3 separate regions of the Homo sapiens genome follow, and all the other regions are linked to region 1. Evidence: promoter capture Hi-C in 16 types of primary human blood cells and fetal thymus (Javierre and others, 2016). All regions are on one chromosome and are shown on one strand. Each heading gives the region's core, a stretch centred on a gene start or on the middle of the fragment in contact. The rest is flanking DNA. Distances are from core to core; before and after follow the strand shown.

Evidence for each region. The method cuts DNA at HindIII sites, captures the fragments that hold promoters and counts their contacts. A CHiCAGO score of 5 or more calls a contact.
Region 2: a contact is called between a fragment that was not itself captured here and the fragment with the promoter of FAM131A in region 1, in 2 of 17 cell types (M0 macrophages and M1 macrophages). The highest score is 6.4, in M0 macrophages.
Region 3: a contact is called between a fragment that was not itself captured here and the fragment with the promoter of FAM131A in region 1, in 7 of 17 cell types (naive B cells, M1 macrophages, M2 macrophages and 4 more). The highest score is 6.7, in naive B cells.

What each region holds. Positions count from the first base shown.
Region 1 is chr3:184,335,928-184,340,091 of GRCh38, forward strand. FAM131A (family with sequence similarity 131 member A) reads left to right here and starts at 1,673. Exons shown (of 6, transcript NM_144635.5): 1 at 1,673-1,791; 2 at 2,460-2,602. The coding sequence starts at 1,704. RefSeq lists silencers at 1-306, 223-423, 347-416 and an enhancer at 2,215-2,826. The HindIII fragment of the contact is 18,780 bases long and covers 1-4,164 here.
Region 2 is chr3:183,892,265-183,896,708 of GRCh38, forward strand. It overlaps the pseudogene CYP2AB1P. Among named protein-coding and RNA genes, the nearest start is that of MIR4448, 7.7 kb to the left of the region's middle. The HindIII fragment of the contact is 3,780 bases long and covers 773-4,444 here.
Region 3 is chr3:184,780,334-184,784,830 of GRCh38, forward strand. It overlaps LOC105374253 (a long non-coding RNA gene), which reads left to right. Exons shown (of 4, transcript XR_924790.3): 4 at 262-411. Among named protein-coding and RNA genes, the nearest start is that of LINC02069, 9.4 kb to the left of the region's middle. RefSeq lists an enhancer at 776-1,276. The HindIII fragment of the contact is 4,924 bases long and covers 209-4,497 here.

The DNA of each region.
Region 1 (4,164 bases), core at 423-2,922:
CACCGGCCCGGTTCCCTCTCCGGGGAGCGGCGGCGGACGCGCGGCTCCCACCCCTCCCCTCTCACGGGCTCTCCCCTCCCCAGTGTGGCCGCGACCCTACCCTCTGCAAGGCGATGGCCCGCGCCCCGAGCGCAGGCTAGCGTGCCTGGGTGCCCGGCCATGGGCTGTATCGGCTCTCGGAGCCCGGCGGGTCAGGGTAAGAGGCGGAGGCCGGGTACGGGTTGGGGAGTCGGGCTGCGGCCGCCGGTGCGCGGGCCGCGGGTGGGTGGGGGCCTTGAGGAGGGGGCCGGTGTCGGGAGAGGGAGGAGCCTGCACCGGGAGGCGGGCCAGGCAACAGGAGGGAGCGGGAATGAGCAGGGAAGGGGCCAGACCGACTCCGGTTCGCTCCCACGGCCTGCCTGCCTTGGGGTTTTGCAGGGCAGACGCATGGTCTCGCCGCTGGCTGCCGTGTGCCCACTGCTCAGGGTGGCCGGAGACGCACAGCCCCGGGAGGGGCTGGGCAGCCCGATGCCCCCACCACTCCAGCCCTCGGCGACTGGCCTTGCGCGCCCACACACACACTCCCCTCCGCCTACACCTCTGCCTTCACAGTCCTGGGAGTGGCCCTGTGCTGGGAACCTGCTTCTCCCAGCCGTGTCCCCATCTTCTTAAAGAGGTAGCCTTTCGGTCCTGGCTAAGCACCCTACCACAGAATTTTTGTCGGACATTGACTCCCCTCTTCAGTCAGTCGGCGAAGGGGGACTGAGGTCCCGTTTGGGGCACCTGTGAACACTGAATCACCTCTCACCTATTACAGTTGTTTTAATGTCCTGCCCCCACTCAGCAAAAACAAATCACTCTACTCTGTGGAGGGAAAGAGGAACCCAGAGGCAGGCCATCAGGGCTTCCTTCCCACAGTGCTGACCCCTGCCTGGGCCTCGGTTTCCGTGGGTGGCCATGCACACCGGGCCTGGCCGTAGTCCTGTGCATCAGAGGTCGGCCAGCTTCCTTTACTCCGGTGTGGTGGATTTCTCCACGCATAAGGCAAGGCAGGACTGGGTTTGGGATGGGTCCTGGACCTTCAGGGCAGGTGGTCAGTCACACAGGCCTTGGTGTGGTTGGTACTTGATGTTCTTTGGAGCTAAGACTGGCTGAGATTTGTACTTCCCTTGAGGAATTCTGGGATTTGTAGTCCTAAGTTAACCTCGTGGCTTTTGAAGCTGAGGAGCAGCTGACTGCTCTGATCTCTCTGGCCCTATCAAGGCTTGGAGTTCAGGAAGTCATCACCTTCTCTTGTCAGGGGTGAGTTTGGCTGACCTCAGGACTGGCCTCGAGAGCCCTGGTTAGGTACCAGTTGGGGGCCAGGGATGGCCTGTAACCTCCTGTTTTCCTTCTGGTTGGTAGCATTTCTGGGGACCAACAGCTGGCCGAGGCTCAGGGATAGAGACGGCTGCTCCAGCTAAAGGTCAGTTGTGATGTACATTGCCTGTTGGCACTGTCTAGGGAATGGGCCTCAGCTCCCCGAGTCCCAGAGAGCTTGGCTGAGCCCTGGTGTTCCCACCTCCTCAGAGCCATGAGGCAGGAATGTTCTCCTTATGTGACTAGGCACAGGTTCCAAATGGGGAGGGGACTGGCTCAGCATCCGGAGCCAAAACAGGAATAGAACTGGGAGCTGAGCCTGGAGCGGTTCTGGGCTTTTGGTTCTCTGCATCAACACAGCCAGCATGCCTATGATTTCTGTGCTGGGCAAAATGTTTCTGTGGCAGCGTGAAGGGCCTGGAGGACGATGGACTTGTCAGACAAGTCGCAGAGGTGAGACCAGGGATCATGGATGTGATCTGGGAGATGATGGGAAGCTGAGCAGTAGGGTGCTTAGGTGGAAAAGGAAAATTACTCTGGCTTAGATATTAAGAACCAGGCTGAAACAGGGAGAACCAGGCTGGGGCCAGACAGGGCATCAGGAAACGGCTTCAGGGGACAGGGGTGAAAATCAGAAAAAATATCATGAGTTCGTCAGAAAAGAAGAGTAAAGAGCTGTGGACCAGCTGAGGCTGGCGAGAGGAAAGAAGGCAGCAGGAAGAGAGAAGGAAGGCAACCCTCCTGCAAAGGGTCCAGGGTGGCGGTGGTGGGGGGGACAGTGATGGCGGAAGAACTCAGTGTGCTTTCCAAGAGGAATGGGTAGGCTGGGAAACGGGAAGGAGAGTCAGAATTTATCATTGTTTGGTTTCACCCTAGGGTTTTGAGGCAAAATTTATCCAGAGCAGGAAGGTGGCAAGTGGGCTGCCACAGAATGGCCCCAGGGGCCCGAGGGTCAGTGATGTGTGGGATGGGGGCTTTTAGAGTTGAGGAGAGCACTCAGTGGGCGCTGGTCTTCTGGAAGGTGGGGGAGGGGCCGAGAAATGATACGGCAATACTGGATGAAAATGGGGATCTCTGCAGAAGTAGGGGCACAGCTCAACAGCCTTTCCCCTTCCTCTCAGTGTCCTCGGACCCCGCTTGGGCTGTGGAGTGGATCGAACTTCCTCGGGGTCTCTCTCTATCCTCTTTGGGATCTGCTCGAACCCTCCGAGGCTGGAGCAGGTCCTCCCGCCCTTCCTCGGTGGACAGTCAGGACTTGCCAGAGGTGCTGGGCCCCTGGTGGTGGGGGGAAGGAGGACGTCATCCATATAAAGGGGATCTGCAGCCCCCACCCACGCCTGGCCAGCCAGCTTCTGGCTCCCTTTTCCGGCGGGCGGAGGCGCTATCCGGCGGCGGGCCGGGAGGCCGCCCCCGTGCCGGTCTGCTCTGCTCGGCGCTGTGCCAGCAGGCGGAGAGCTCGCGCCTTCCGCGCTGACGTCAGCGCATCCCGGGCCGTATCCCGGGAGACCCTGTTGCGTGGTGATGGGTTGCCAGGGAGACATACACCTTTTCTCTGGGCCTGGGCCGCAGCTGCGCGGAGCGCCGGGCACGGATGGCGGCGGCTGAGGGGAGCGAAGCGAGGGAGGGAGAGCAAGCTAAGAAACACCCAGCAGGTGCTCCCCCGCCTAGGCCTGGCTGGAGGCTACTGGCGCCACCCTGGGGGCCCTGTCAGCCAGGTACCCAAGGGGAGGGATCGAGGGTGGGCCTCAGGTCAAGGGGCAGTGTTGGCTGCCCTTGTGAGGGACGGGAACGTGATAGAAGAGAGCTGGGCAATGCCGGGGAGGGATGTGTGCCTCCAACTTCATTAAGTGAGGGAAACATTTGCTGGGGCTTGTCAGGGAGCCCTGAGCCAGGTACAGGGTGGAGTTAGGAACTTACGTGCATCAGACTTAGGCCTTGCCATCCTGAGCTCCCTCGGGAGACAGACAAGGGCAATGATGGGGGCGGGGTGTGTCAGAGAAAAGAAGAGGCTGTCGGCTGAAAGCATTATTTGCAGGTGACACTTGAGATGGGCCTTAAGTGATGGCAAGCATTTTTTCACGTAAGGATGGCATTCTTGGCCCAGAGGAAAGCTGAGTTCCTTTTCCTGGAGGCAGGCGGGCTGCTTGCTGACAGGGATTGGTGGAGAAGGGTTTTTGTTTTTTGTTATTTATTTTTATGTATTTATTTATTTGAGACGGAGTTTCGCTCTTGTTGCCCAGGCTGGAATGCAATGGTGCGATCTCGGCTCACCGCAGCCTCTGCCTCTGGGGTTCAAGCGATTATCCTGCCTCAGCCTCCAGAGTAGCTGGGATTACAGGCATGCGCTGCCACGCCCGGCTGATTTTGTATTTTTAGTAGAGGCGGGGTTTCACCATGTTGGCCAGGCTGGTCTCCAACTCCCGACCTCAGGTGATCCGCCTGCTTCGGCCTCCCAAAATGCTGGGATTACAGGCGTGAGCCACTGCGCCCGGCCTGAGAAGGGGGGTTTTATTGGGCAGAGGAGATCAGCAGTGGATTCAAAGGAGGCTTGGAAGGAGGCAAGGGTGTCACAGAGTGGGATCCTTCAGGGCCTGGGTATGATGCCTGCACTAACCTCACTGGACAGTAGCGTAGGCTAGACAAGATTTTAGAGATGTGTTGTGACCAGCTGCACTCCAGGAAAACTGTTTACATTATATCTTACCTCATTCATCCAGCCTTTGCATTTTTGTTTGCTTGTTTTTGAGACAGAGTCTTTTTCTGTCGCCCAGGCTGGAGTGCAGTGGCACAATCTTGGCTCACTGCAATCTCCGCCTCCTGGGTTCA
Region 2 (4,444 bases), core at 1,413-3,912, 440 kb before region 1:
TCTGATACTTTCTAACTAATTCACCGGCTAGCTTCTGACTTTTATTCCTGTAAATTCAGGCTGGCCCGGTGGCTCACACCTGTGATCCCAGCACTTTGGGAGGCGAAGATGGGCAGATCACCTGAGGTCAGGAGTTTGAAACCAGCCTGGTCAACATGGTGAAACCCTGTCTCTACTAAAAATACAAAAATTAACCAGGCGTGGTGGCGCGTGCCTATAATCCCAGCTATCCGGGAAGCTGAGGCAGGAGAACTGCTTGAACCCGGGAGGTGGGGGTTGCAGTGAGCCAAGATCACTGAACTCCAGCCTGGGTGACAGAGTGAGACTCCATCTCAAAAATTAATTAATTAATTCAGATAATTGTATCTACCTTGTCACTTTGGTATTTAAATGGCTTCGTCTATGTTAGGTGCCCAGTGCACTTCCTAGCACACGGTTGGCAATCAACACATGGCAGCTATTGTCATATCGTCATGAGGATATGGAAGCTGAAAGGGAAGCCTATCCACAGGGGAAGGGCTCCCTGCAGCGTCATCATTTTAGAGCTAAAAACAAAGGTGCGAGTACTTTTGGATGCTGTCTAGGGGAAGGAGAGCCCTGCCAACATAAACAGAGCATTCATCACCCGCCAGGCCCTGTGCTGGGCATTGTCACTCCCGACAATCCTAAAGGAAGCCTCCATTTGTCATATGAGGAGACCGAAGCACACAAGGACTGGGTTATTGAGAGCAAAACTGGGATTTCAACCAAGGCCAAAGTCCAGGTGAGGGAAAGCTTCCTGGAGGAGTTGGCCTTTCAATGGAATAACACGCAGAGGGCTGGACAGGATCAAAGACAGGAGGCTGGATGGTGGAGAGGATGAGTGTTAGAAGGGGCTGCAAGCTCCAGACAGGGGCTCTAACAGAGAAAGGGTTAGGAAAGTGAGGTAGGAAGCAGGTGAATTAGAGCCTGGCTTTGTTTTCTCTGCCCCAGATCCTGCCTGGATCACAGAGAGCTGCCAGCTCAGGGTGGGACCTCCCAGGGCCGAGAACCCCAGGCTGTCTCCTGCTCTCTGGGACCCCACTTGCCTAGTGCTTCCCAGTCTGGACTCCCGAGGCCCTGGATATGGCACCGCACAGAAAATAAGATATCTATGAGAAAGCTCCAGGATTTCACAAAGCCTGAAGAAAGGCCAGAGGCTAATTCACACATCATGGTTTTTGTTTTTTGTTAGGTTTTGTTATGAGACAGGGTCTTACTCTGTCAGCCAGGCTGAAGTGCAGTGGCGCGATCTCTGCTCACTGCAATCTTCGCCTCCTGGGTTCAAGCGATTCTCCTGCCTCAGTCACCCAAGTAGCTGAGACTATGGTGTGCACCACCACGCCCGGCTAATTTTTGTATTTTTAGTAGAGATGGGGGTTTAACCATGTTGCCCAGGCTGATCTTGAACTCCTGGCCTCAAGTGATCCACCCACCTCAGCCTTCCAAAGTGCTGGGATTACAGGCGCAAGCCATTAAGCCTGGCCAATACGTCATGTTTTATTTCTGGTTAGACTCCTTTCAGCCTGGTGTAGCAGTAATGATTGATCTCCTACTAATTAGAAACATTGGTTCATTCATATGTACGTCCTTTAAATAACACAAAAGAGAGAGGTAAGGCATTTCCTTTTTTTTTTTGAGATGGAGTCTCATTCTGTCTCCCAGGCTGTAGTGCAGTGGTGCAATCTCTGCTTACTACAACCTCCGCCTCCCAGGTTCAAGCGATCCTCCTGCCTCAGCCTTCAGAATAACTGGGATTACAGGCACGTGCCACCATACCCAGTTAACTTTTTTGTATTTTTAGTAGACAGGGCTTCACCATGTTTGCCAGACTGGTCTTGAACTCCTGACCTCCGGTGATCTGCCCGCCTTGGCCTCTCAAAATGCTAGGATTACTGGCGTGAGCCAACGTGTCCGGCCCGAGGCATTTCCTTTTTAAAGCTCAGATTTATTGAGGCATGGCTTATATACAATAACACTCATTTAAGTGTACAGTTGTATGAGTTTTGACAAACACATACAGTTGTGTAACCATCACCACAATCAAGATACAGAACATTTCTATTACCCCAGAAAGTTTCCTCATGTCTTTTTACAGTCAACCTATAACCCTGCTCCCGAATCCTGGCAGCCACTTATCTATGGAATATTTTCTGTCCCTATAGGTTTGCCTTTTTAAGAATATCACAGAAATGGAATCATATAATTCATAGATATGCATTTGTGTGAACATATATTTTCATTTCTTTTGGGTAATACCTAAGATTGGGACTGCTGGGTTGTGTGGTGTAATGTTTAATTTTACAAGAAATTGCCAAACTGTTTTCCAATGTAGTCGTACCTTTTTACATTTCCACCTGCAGGGTATGAGAATTCCATTTGCTTCGCATCTTTTCCAGTACTTGGGATTGTCAGGGTTTTCTTTTTAGCAGTTCTAATCGGTATGTAATGGTATTTCATTTGATTTTAGTTTGCATTTCCTTGATGCAAGTCAGTCTTTTTTTTTCTGAGACAGAGTCTCGCTCTGTCACCCAGGTTGGACTGTAGTGGTATAATCTCCGCCCACTGCAACCTCTGCCTCCAGGAACTCACAAGTCATTCTTTGTTTTTGCTTTTGTTTGTTTGTTTGTTTGTTTGTTTGTTTTTGAGACAGTTTCACTCTTGGATCCCAGGCTGGAGAGCAGTGGTGCGATCTTGGCTCACTGCAACCTCTGCCTTCTGGGTTCAAGCGATTCTCCTGCCTCAGCCTCCCGAGTAGCTGGGATTACAGGTGCCTGCCACCATGCCCGGGTAATTTTTGTATTTTTAGTAGAGATGGGGTTTCACCATGTTTGCCAGGTTGGTCTTGAACTTCTGACCTCAAGTGATCCACCTGCCTCGGTCTCCCAAAGTGCTGGGATTACAGGTGTGAGCCACCATGCCCAGCCACAAGTCATTCTTTTTTAATAAACAAGGCTTGTCTGGAGATGCAAGGATTCAAAATTTAGGGACCCTTGTGTGGAAACTAAAGTGGGTCTTTGGTGAAGAATTTGCTGGAAACAGTTATATGGTCTGCTGGCTTTGCTGTATTGAGATGGTGAGATCTTTCTCTGCCCCAGGTCTGCAGAGAACTGCAGTTCTTCCTTCTGGTCAGGAGAGGGCAGGAGAAGGCAGAAAATAAGCTGCCCCCGCTTCACTTTTTTTTTTTTTTTTTTTTTTTTTGGTTTACCAGTCCCCGGCATCTAGAGTATTCGCATTTGCATGCATTATTATATTCATAGTTTTGCTCGAAAGTTTGCCTTTTCCTCTGAACCTAGTTAGCTGCTGCCTTGTGAGGCTTGATTCCCCAATATTAACTTTGTGGACTGATTTAATGCCAAACTTAACCAATCTTATAAAATCTTCGCCTGCCAAAGCATAACTAACCTAATTTAAGAATTGAACTACCCAAACTGAGCTACCTCTGTAGAATCCTTGCTAAGTCTATTCTCCAGTGTCACCCCACAGAGCTTGTGTTAGGGGCAACCATGAGCAGCTGAGCTGCATGAACCCCTGGTCCTCCTCTTTTCTAACTTTGCAGGAACCAAAAGAGACTGAGGAAGGACTTCATGGGGGACAGGCCTCCAGACCCCCAGTGGCTACAGGCCATCCTCCCTAGGACCAGGGCTGGGGCTGCTCAGGCGGGGCACTGCGCAGATCTCCTGGGGCTGGGGTTGCCAAGTGCCGCCAAAGATGTACTCCAGCTTGAGCCCCGGGCTCCCTTCTGGCAGTTGGAACCGAAAGGTCCTGAGGAGGGTGGCAAACATCAGGAAGAGCTCCATTTGAGCCAGCTGGTCTGCTGGGTAGACACGATGCCCTGGAAACAGAGAGAAAAGTCAGAGGTGGCAGCTGTCCCTGTGTCTGTCCCACCACAGCCCCACCCACCACCCAGGATCCAGCTCTGTGCCTAGTACCTGCAGAGAATGGCAGGAAGGCCTCATTGGCCACAAAGTTTCCATCCTTGTCCGAGAAGTGGCCAGGGTTGAACTGTCGAGGGGTCTCCCAGCACTCAGGGTCATAGAGCACAGAGGCCAGGTTGGGTAAGATGATGGTGCCCTGCAGAGAGATGCTGGTGTGGCTCAGGGAGCCTCAGATGGTACCCAGTACCCAGCCCTGACACTGAGCCACAGTGAGCTTGGAGAATACCCAGTGTGTTGGTGGGAGTAGTCCAGGGGCCTTGAGGAGACTCAGCAGCCGGCCCTCAGGCTGCCCTTCCTCCAGGCTCACATCAGTGAAGGAGCTGAGCAGGACACCCTCCTGGCTAAGGACTGCCCAGCTTTGTCCTGAAGACTCCCAGCCACGTCTAGGGACATGAAGCCATTGCCTCCTACAGAGAAGGCCAACAGCTGGGGGCATGTCTGGAAGGGGCCAAGGACAGCCCAGGACAATACACACTGGGGCAGGGGAT
Region 3 (4,497 bases), core at 1,421-3,920, 450 kb after region 1:
ATTTAAAGAATGAACTCAGAATCTTGGCCACCATTAATTTCACAGCTTACAATTATTTGCATCTCCCCCGCTTTTTTTTTGTTTTTTTTTTTCTTTGCTTGAGTCATTTTAAAAAGCCCTTATGATTTCCTTTAATCCTTTTGGTAGAGCAATTCCATTCTCTTCTCTCTTAACCTCCTCTCTCCGGAACGCCCCCCCTCCGCCTGAAAGCTTTAAATAATGCAGCAAATTCTTGTTTCGTTTCCTTTTCTCTGTTTCCAGATGGATTTTTCTCCCCAGAACATCCCTGGGAATCATTTCTGTCAGATGCTTCACTGGATGTCCCTTGGTCTTTACAGCCATCTATCCTCCTTCTCCAACCCCCACCTCGAATTGCAACTTGCTATTTTAATTATAGTTTCTCTTGCCACACTTGGGTTGTTTTTTTTTTCTCTTCTCAGTCTTCTACCTCGCTTAGATTTTAATCCCTTCTTCCAGTGCAGAAAATTCATTAAGATTTCTAGATTCCTCCCAATTTGCTTCCTTGATGTTGAATAATTCTTAGTCTATGTATGATGCTGATTGTTCAGATGTTGAATTAAGTTGCTAAGCAGTGGGGCCAGGAGGCCCTGTCCAAGTGCAGACTGAACCCCACTCCGGAGTGGAGCTGGGGTGTCCCTGGGTCATCTGGTCCCTGCAGTCCTGAAGCTGGCCCTCTCTAAGACCAGACCTCGGCCCCAGTGCAACCAGCCACCTGTGCCTGCCTCCCTGGCCACCCGATGAGAGGTCCTGGGATTGTTTGTCTTCGGTTCCATGGATTGATCCTTGCAGGCTGGGCCAGGCTGGCCCTGACCATAAGCCACCTGGGTCACCTGCAGCTGTTTCCCAGGTGCCTGCTAGGCCTGCAGGCTGGGGCTGCAGTTGGAAATGGGTCTGGGCAGGAAGTGAAGGGGGAAGTAACCTGTGTGGCTGGGGAGTCAATGAGGCCATCGTGTGAGGGGAGGACTGGAACGCAGTTCTATGATGCATTCCAGGGATAAAGGCTGAGTTACTCACCACAGAGAGGAATCGCTGAAAGCTGCCACCCATCCTGTTTGGGCTCACAAACCTGTCCCTGTTCTGTCCTTTGGATAGATATATAGGTCACTACTGGTGAAGGTCATTTACTGTGGGAGCATGTCAACATCAACCTTGAGCCTGGCTCAATTAGAAACATGGGGTGCTCTGAAGTGGCCTAAAAGTCCCTGGGAAAGGGTGATCCATTTACAGCTGCTTAACCTGGGGCAGGTCACCTCACCCCTCTGAACCTCAGGGCTGATATGAGACAACGTGCATGAAAGGTCACTACGTGGGCAACGCTGATATTATGATGCAGGTGAGGAGACGCAAGAGGCGGCATTCATTCCTTCATTCATTGCTACCTTGTTGTTAGAGATTTAAGGCAAGAGACACAACTGGAAAATGGACAAAGGAAAAATGATTTTGAGGATCTAGAGGATAAGATAAGGTCTGAGATTGTCTCAAGTGGGAATAAAGGAAGTAGAAGGGAGGGTGGCCCTGTAAAGTCAGGCGACCTCTACCTCAAGGTGAGGAGGAGAATGCAGCGGAGGAGGCCCTAGAGGACCTGGTACAGGATCAGTTGGAGAAGTGGGAGGGGCAGAGGGCTGCACATTCCTAATGAGCTTGCCCGCTAATCCCAGAGGGTTGCTGCACTGGGAAAGCACAGGCGGAGACCTCCTAAGATGTCTGGAATATCAAATAACATGGCAGAATGTGAGGCAAATAAATGAGTCAAAAACTTGGACTCTTATAACTCTGCAAATAATTCTTTTTTTTTTTTTTTGAGATGGAGTCTTGCTCTGTCACCCAGGCTGGAGTGCAGTGGCATGATCTCAGTTCACGGCAACCTCTGTCTCCTGGGTTCAAGCATTTCTCCTGCCTCAGCATCCCAAGTAGCTGGGAGTACAGATGCAAGCCACCAGGCCCAGCTAATTTTTATATTTTTAGTAGAGACAGGGTTTCACCATGTTGGCCAGGCTGGTCTCGAACTCCTGACCTCAAGCGATCCACTCGCCTTGGCCTCCCAAAGTGTTGGGATTACAGGTGTGAGCCACCGCGCCTGGCCTCTCTGCAAATAATTCTGACACCTGGGAGTTGCACTTTGTATATCATGCTTTTATATGCAAAGGACTTGTTTCAGCATGTCTGTTCCACTTCCTTGAATAGTGCAAGGGCAGTGGCAGTGCCAAGGAGTGGCTTGGAGAGGTATGTTTTATGCCCCTCATCTTCATGAATCACCCCCGCCTCCCCCCCTCAAAAAAACAACTAAAAATCATGTTTTTGACATGGGCGGGGGATGTCTTCTTACTCTTATGGAAAATGTGAGTACAAGCCCCTTTAGAAAAATTACTGTAAAGCATCAGATGAAGGCCGAGTGTGGTGGCTCACGCCTGTAATCCCAGCACTTTGAGAGGCCAAGGCAGGTGGATCACCTGAGTTCAGGAGTTCGACACCAGCCTGGCCAAGACAGTGAAACCCCGTCTCTACTAAAAATACAAAAGTTAGCTGTGCATGGTGGCAGGCGCCTGTAATTCCAGCTACTCTAGAGGCTGAGGCACGAGAATCGCTTGAACCCAGGAAGCAGAGGTTGCAGTGAGCCAAGATGGCACCACTGCACTCCAGCCTGGGTGACAGAGCAAGACTCCATCTCAAAAAATAAAAATAAGATAAATCAGTTGAATTCTACCACAGCTTTGAGACAAGTCCCTGGCCCTGCTTCCAACCAGATTGCTGTTTCTAAGTTTCTCCCAGGCAGACACCCTAGAGTCCCAGCTCCAAAGGTACTCCGCAACGAACAGAGTGGCCAGGAGGTGCTGGAGGAAGGGAAAGCCCTGTGTGGTCAGGAGTTCACGGGCAGTGGGGATTTTCAGCTGAGCTGGACACAGGGAGGGCAGAGGCAGACTTCCCTCGGAGAGGAGGGCAGAGACAAAGCCTAAGGCAATGGGAGCAAGTCTGGCTGTTCAGGGAGGCCCGGGGTTGGTCTGCTCAAAGGGAGGGTGTCTGGAAAGGAGGAGTAGGAGGTGAGGATGGAGAGATGGTGGTGCCGGATCAAAGGAGGCGTAAGTGCTGGGCGAAGGAAGCAGATCTGTGTCCCTGAGCAGGACCCAGCAGGAGGCTTCCATGCCAAAGAAAGTTTGGGTGAAAATAGGATTTTAGGAACATTAGTCATATATAGAATAAACTGGAGGATGGGGGAGGACCAGTCAGGAAGGTCAGTTAGGAGGTTTTGGCTGTGAGTCCCGCATGAGATGTAAGGACCTAGCCTAGCCGTGTATGGCATAGAAATAAAAGAACAGGCCCGGTATGGTGGCTCACTCCTGTAATCCCAGCACACTGGGAGGCCAAGGCAGATGGATCACCTGAGGTCAGGAGTTTGAGACCAGCCTGGCCAACATGGTGAAACACTGTCTCTACTAAAAATACAAAAATTAGCCAGGTGTGATGGCGTGCGCCTATAGTCCCAGCTACTCGGGAGGCTGAGGCAGGAGACTCACTTGAACCTGGGAGGCGGAGGTTGTGGTGAGCCGAGATAGCACCACTGCACTCCAGCCTGGGGGACAGAACAAGACTCCATCTCAAAAAAAAAAAAAGAAAAAGAAAAGAAAGAAAAGAATAAATAAGGCCGGGCACAGTGCCTCATGCCTATAATCCTAGCACTTTGGGAGGCCGAGGTGGGCAGATCACAAGGTCAGGAGTTTGAGACCAGCCTGACAAACATGGTGAAACCCTGTCCCTACTAAAAAAAAAAAATACAAAAAATTAGCTGGACATAGTGGTGGGCGCCTGTAATCCCAGCTACTTGGGAGTCTGAGGCAGGAGAATCTCTTGAACCTGGGAGGTGGAGGTTGCAGTGAGCCGAGATCGTGCCACTGCACTCCAGCCTGGGCGACAGAGTGAGACTCCTTCTCAAAAAATAAATAGCCGGGCGCGGTGGCTGACGCCTGTTAATCCCAGCACTTTGGGAGGCCAAGGAGGGCGGATCATGAGGTCAAGAGATCGAGACCATCCTGGCCAACTTGGTGAAACCCCGTCTCTACTAAAAATACAAAAATTAGCCAGGCATGGTGGCAGGCGTCTATAATCCCAGCTACTCAGGAGCCTGAGGCAGGAGGATTGCTGGAACCCAGAGGTGGAGGTTGCAGTGAGCTGAGATCGCACCACTACACTCCAGCCTGGCGACAGAGCAAGATCCTGTCTCAAAAAATAAAAATAAATAAATACATAAGAAGTGAAATGGAAGGGACGTGGCAATAGGAGGGGGCAGCCTGAGTAGGAACACAGGAAGGTTACGAGGGGAAGAATGCCCCAGAAGCAGACAACATGGGGACTTGATGTTCCCAGATGCATTCCCAGAAGGGAGCTAGTTAGTTAGGCTGGTTAGTTTCTGCTGTCCAGTCCTTGCTTATGTGGCACAAGAGCAGCAGAGAGATTTTCCACAAACCTCCCCTAGGAGACGGC